Linked DNA regions of Homo sapiens: region 1 is linked to region 2. Evidence: promoter capture Hi-C in 16 types of primary human blood cells and fetal thymus (Javierre and others, 2016). All regions are on one chromosome and are shown on one strand. The core of a region is centred on a gene start or on the middle of the fragment in contact, and the rest is flanking DNA. Distances in the headings are between cores, read along the strand shown.

Region 1 (2,700 bases), core at 201-2,700, 410 kb after region 2:
CTCGTATACTGAGTGTGCCGGTCCCCTGGGCCCACTGTTCTTTCTCTATACTTTGTGTCTTATTTCTTTTCTCAGTCTCTTGTCTCCACCTGACGAGAAATACCCACAGGTGTGGAGGGGCAGGCCCCCTTCAAACATGTTGGTCAGGCTGACCTGGAACTCCTGACCTCAGGTGATCCTCCAGCCTCGGCCTCCCAAAGTGCTGAGATTACAAGCGTGAACCACTGTGCCTGGCCCTCACCCCAGTTTATAGATGGGGGACCTAACGCACCCAAAGGGAACTGTGTGAGTTCTCACATCCAATGAGGGGCTGAACCGTGATTGAAACCCAGCACCGTCTCACTGTGGCATCTCTGCCCTTGAGTTATCTCCCAAAGGCATCCCAACCAGACTTTTCATAACCAGTCCCAGAATCTCACCAGTGCTCCATAGCTGTGGTTGAGGCACTGTCCCCAAGCCTGGGTCCTGAGACCCTACCAGCAGAAGAACCACTGCCTGTCCAGCCCCTCCTACACAGCTCAGGGGCTGGATCCCCACCAGTGTGATGTGCTGATTGAGCTAACACCACTCCATGGCTGTCTACACAGGCACTGAGAGATGCAATCCGTTGGCTTGAGAGCCGGGCAGCTGAGCCCAGGAGAGCAGGGTCCCCTCCCAGCCCTTTGGCCTCTTCCAGACCTGCCCAGTTGCTCCTTCTCCCTCCCTCCTTTCCTGGGGTCACTTCTTCTTCCCTCCTCAGTCTCTCCTTCCTCCATTCCCTGGGTGCCCGCCCCTGCCCCGGGGTTCTGGACCTCCTTGGAACCTTGGATTCACTCTCTGCCTCTCACCCACGCTCTTTCTCTGGGGCGTCTCCTCGTGCTTCTCTCATGGTCACTTCACCAGGACCGACTCCTCCCCGGAGCCTGGAGGCACCCACTTGCTGGTGGGAGAGAGTGTCTGGCGTGGGGCCAGTCTCCCTCTCTGGGTCTCTGCCTCACTCCTCACTGCACCCTCTCATGCCTGTCAGTCTTTCTACCTCTCCCCCTTTTTGCCTCGGTTTCCCCATCCCTCTGTCCCTTCTTAAGCTCTCATCCTTACAGTACGCTAGAAGGCAGGCTCTATTATCCTTTAGGATTTAGGCCTCTTTAGATAAAAGGGCTCACAGGCTTGGAGGGTTTTAAGTGACTTACCCGGCGGCGGAGTACTGATCTTAGTACCGCCCGCCGCCCCGGACTGCCCCGCCCCTCCCTAGCCCCCCCATCCCCGCCCCTCCCTAGCCCCCCCATCCCCGCCCCTCCCTAGCCCCCCCATCCCCGCCCCTCTCCCGCCCCTCCCTTGTCCCCGCCCCTTCCCGCCCCAACTCAGGTTCTGCCCCACCCCGCCCCAATTCACGTCCTGCTCCGCCCCGACGTAGGCCCCGCCCTGGCCCCCGGGCCCCGCCCCCGTCTGACGCAGGCCCCGCCCCCTCTCCGCCCCGCCCCGGCTCGGGCGGCCGGAGGACCCGGAGCTAAGGCGCCCGAACCCGCGGCGGCGGTGGGGACGATGTGGTTCTTTGCCCGGGACCCGGTCCGGGACTTTCCGTTCGAGCTCATCCCGGAGCCCCCAGAGGGCGGCCTGCCCGGGCCCTGGGCCCTGCACCGCGGCCGCAAGAAGGTGAGTGCGGCCGAGCTCCGTAGGCCGCGGTCGACCTGGGCCTTGCCTATTCCGCGCCGCCGACCCCGTCGCGTTGCGCCCGGCCTGACGTGGCGGCGGAACCAAGGGGTAGCAGGCCGGGGAGGGGGCGGGCAGTGCCTACGTGGCGGGCGGAGGGACCGAGGGACCGACAGGCGGACAGGGCCGGGGTCACGTGGGCCCGGCGAAGTGTCCCTAAGGCTGACCTGGGGAGAGACCTGGCTGCGGGCCCTTGTCTTCCGGCCACACAACAGCTCTGGGACCATCTCAGGCCCCGCTGCCCTCCCCTAGGCCACAGGCAGCCCCGTGTCCATCTTCGTCTATGATGTGAAGCCTGGCGCGGAAGAGCAGACCCAGGTGGCCAAAGCTGCCTTCAAGCGCTTCAAAACTCTACGGCACCCCAACATCCTGGCTTACATCGATGGACTGGAGGTACCTGCTGCCTTGCCTGCCCGTCTCTGCCCCTCACGATGTCCTGGTTACCCACTCCTGTCTCCCCTCCTGCCCTGTTTCCACCCTATGTGCCCCAGCACCCCCAGATTTGGTTTCCTCTTCCCCATCTCTCCCAACTTCAAGTCGCTTATCTCTCCTTCCTCTCTGCCCCTCCGCCCTTGATAACCCTGTGTCCCCTTCCCCAGACAGAAAAATGCCTCCACGTCGTGACAGAGGCTGTGACCCCGTTGGGAATATACCTCAAGGCGAGAGTGGAGGCTGGTGGCCTGAAGGAGCTGGAGATCTCCTGGGGGCTACACCAGATCGTGGTGAGGTGGGGGGCAGTGGTGATGAGAGCAGGGATGGGGGGTTGCAGGTGCTGGGGCGTGATGGCTCCTTTTGCCCCCAGAAAGCCCTCAGCTTCCTGGTCAACGACTGCAGCCTCATCCACAACAATGTCTGCATGGCCGCCGTGTTCGTGGACCGAGCTGGCGAGTGGAAGCTTGGGGGCCTGGACTACATGTATTCGGCCCAGGGCAACGGTGGGGGACCTCCCCGCAAGGGGATCCCCGAGCTTGAGCAGTATGACCCCCCGGAGTTGGCTGACAGCAGTGGCAG
Region 2 (2,700 bases), core at 62-2,561:
GCTCTCGGCAGCAGGGCCGCTACGCCCCCAGCTATACCCCCAGGTCTGGCTGGTCAGGGGAGCCCCAGGGGGAAGGGACAAAAGAGGGCGAGGGTGCAGGGCGGGCTCTGATTCCTTGTCTTCCCCAATCCAGTGCCCCGATGGACACCAACCTCTTGAGCAATATCCAGAAGCTATTCTCTGAACGTATTGATGTGTTCAGCCCTGTGGAGTTCAACAAGGTCCGACTTCCAACGTGACTCAGACTTCCAGGGATCCCGGGGAGGGTTGGCTGGAGCAGCCCCACACCTGCCCAAGGAGCCCCAGGACTCTGTGACCAACTGGGGGTGACCCTGACCCTCCAGTCTCTGTCTCTAGGGCTGTTTTTAGGTAGTACAGAGTGCCCTGCCTCCAAATCCCACAGCCCTTGTCCCAGTCTTGGTGTATGCCCAGCCTGAGTCTGGGTGCTGACCTGGGATTACTGTTTGCCCTTGTCCTTATCCCCACAGTAGTCTTGGGTCCTCCCCAGGGTTTTCTGTTCACCCATGGTCCCTGCCCCGCCTCACTCCAAGCTCAGGGATGCCTCTGATTGCTGGGCCCTACCTGTCCCCTGCCCTCCAGATGACGGCGCTAATATTGTATCCCTCCCTTCTTATCTGGCCCCGGAGACTTTCTGCCTCATCCCAGCTACTTCCATCGTATGTCTCCCGGGCCCCTGCTTGGAACTTGGGTGTCCCCCACACACACCTGCAGTCCCCAAGCTGCATCCCTGTGTCCCTGCCTGCAGGTGTCGGTGCTGACCGGCATCATCAAGATCAGCCTGAAGACGCTGCTGGAGTGTGTGCGGCTGCGCACCTTTGGGCGCTTCGGGCTGCAGCAGGTGCAAGTGGACTGCCACTTTCTGCAGCTCTACCTGTGGCGTTTTGTGGCCGACGAAGAACTCGTGCACTTGCTGCTGGACGAAGTGGTGGCCTCTGCTGCCCTGCGCTGCCCAGACCCTGTGCCCATGGAGCCCAGTGTGGTTGAGGTCATCTGCGAGCGCGGCTAGGCGCAGCCGCTGCCATGCACCGGTCTGTCCCTGCACCCCATGGCACCCAGGATCTGGTCTCGGTGGTCCTTCCCCGCAGGCAGGTGTCAGGACCGGCCTAATAAACATGTGTGGCCTCCTCCTCTCGCTTGCTGGGCGGGCCTTTCCGGGGGCGGGGTTTTGAAGCTGAGGCTTCTGAGGCGCCCGCGTCGGGTCCGCCCCCGAGCGCCGATTGGCTGGTGTGCTGGGCCCAGCATGGGCAGGGGGCGGTTCCACTTAAAAACCCTGGGACGAGAGCGGTCCTTGTCTGCGTTCCGTGTCCAGGCAGGTGCAGGCGCCGCGGGGCCGGATCCTCCGCGCGGCCGAGTCCATCTCCTGGGAAATGGGGCGGACAGTGTTTCCTTGACTGACTATTGTGAGCGCCCTCTCTCTCCGGCGGAGCGGAGACCATGGCCCCCACTCAGGGCCCCCGGGCCCCGCTGGAATTCGGAGGGCCCCTGGGTAATGGGGCAGAGAGATGGGACCTGGGGCAAAGGCTAAGCGAAGGAGAGCTGGAGCGGGTGAACTAAGAGCGGGGGCGAGATCTGAGGATGGAAGGCTTTGGGGGTGTCGGAGGCAGAGGGACCCGGGGGTTTGCAGCGAAGGGTGTCTGGAGAGGGAGAGCTGAGGAGGGGCCGGTTCTGGGGGCTGCAGAACGGGGATTTATGGTGTCGACTGGGAGCAGGAGGAGGGTCTTCGAGGGGCCTGGGGGCGGGGGACTAAGATGGACGCCTGGGAAGGGAACTGGGAGGCAGCGGGGTGCCTGGGGGCCGAGGGCTGAGGACGGGGTGCGGAGGCGCACTCTGGGAATGCCGAGAGGGTCCCGCAGAGACGTCAGGGCGCCCGTGCGGGCCGGCGGGGAGCTGGGGGGCTAGGGGCGGACGCCCGACGTGATGGCCCTTCCCGCAGGCGCCGCGGCTCTGCTACTGCTGCTGCCCGCCACCATGTTCCACCTGCTCCTGGCGGCCCGTTCGGGCCCCGCGCGCCTGCTGGGTCCACCCGCGTCCCTGCCGGGGCTGGAGGTGCTGTGGAGCCCACGGGCGCTGCTGCTGTGGCTCGCCTGGCTCGGCCTGCAGGCGGCGCTCTACCTACTGCCGGCGCGCAAGGTGCGGGCCCCGCTCGCGGACGCTCGGGGGAGGGAAGCGAATGGGCTCGGCGAGGGAAAGGACGCCCCGGGCCTTATCAGAGCCCCCTTGGACCCGCAGGTGGCCGAGGGGCAGGAATTGAAGGACAAGAGTCGCCTGCGCTATCCTATTAACGGTGCCTAGGGGACGGGCCCTCGCGCTGGAGTTAAGCGGCCGGGGGTGGAGCTCCAGGCCTAGCGGGGAGGTCCACGGAGATTGGCCCCCACCCCAGGCTCCTTTGTGTGCCTCTGTTACGCCCAGGACAGACGCCGGGGGCTCTCCCTATGCCCCTCGTCCCCACAGCCTTACCCCATTTACTGCTACTCCGTGCACCACAGCAGTGGCTGGGGTGATCCTCTGAAGGCCAGGGTGGCAGCCTAATGCTTGGGGCAGGGTCTGTGGCCCCCCTGAGTTTTGGGCTCTGCGTGTGTTTGCGGGGTGGGGATGTGGAGGCGCGCAGCCCCAGGGCTCACTGTGCGCTGTGGTTCAGGCTTCCAGGCCCTGGTGCTGACAGCCCTGTTGGTGGGGCTG

The links. Contacts are between HindIII fragments. The CHiCAGO score rates a contact against its expected background, and 5 or more counts as called.
Region 1: a contact is called between the fragment with the promoter of SCYL1 here and the fragment with the promoter of TM7SF2 in region 2, in 1 of 17 cell types (naive B cells). The highest score is 5.3, in naive B cells.

Annotation. Positions count from the first base shown.
Region 1 is chr11:65,523,633-65,526,332 of GRCh38, forward strand. SCYL1 (SCY1 like pseudokinase 1) reads left to right here and starts at 1,451. Exons shown (of 18, transcript NM_020680.4): 1 at 1,451-1,632; 2 at 1,942-2,082; 3 at 2,289-2,411; 4 at 2,492-2,700. The coding sequence starts at 1,522. RefSeq lists a silencer at 1,299-1,798. The HindIII fragment of the contact is 5,249 bases long and covers 1-2,582 here.
Region 2 is chr11:65,110,561-65,113,260 of GRCh38, forward strand. It overlaps TM7SF2 (transmembrane 7 superfamily member 2), which reads left to right and starts at 1,312. Exons shown (of 10, transcript NM_003273.6): 1 at 1,312-1,507; 2 at 1,955-2,151; 3 at 2,251-2,305; 4 at 2,660-2,700. The coding sequence starts at 1,456. VPS51 (VPS51 subunit of GARP complex) reads left to right here. Exons shown (of 10, transcript NM_013265.4): 8 at 1-43; 9 at 134-221; 10 at 767-1,302. The coding sequence ends at 1,027. RefSeq lists enhancers at 1-494, 495-1,420, 1,117-1,411, 1,334-1,443, 1,514-1,563 and silencers at 253-428, 1,694-2,123. The HindIII fragment of the contact is 11,666 bases long and covers 1-2,700 here.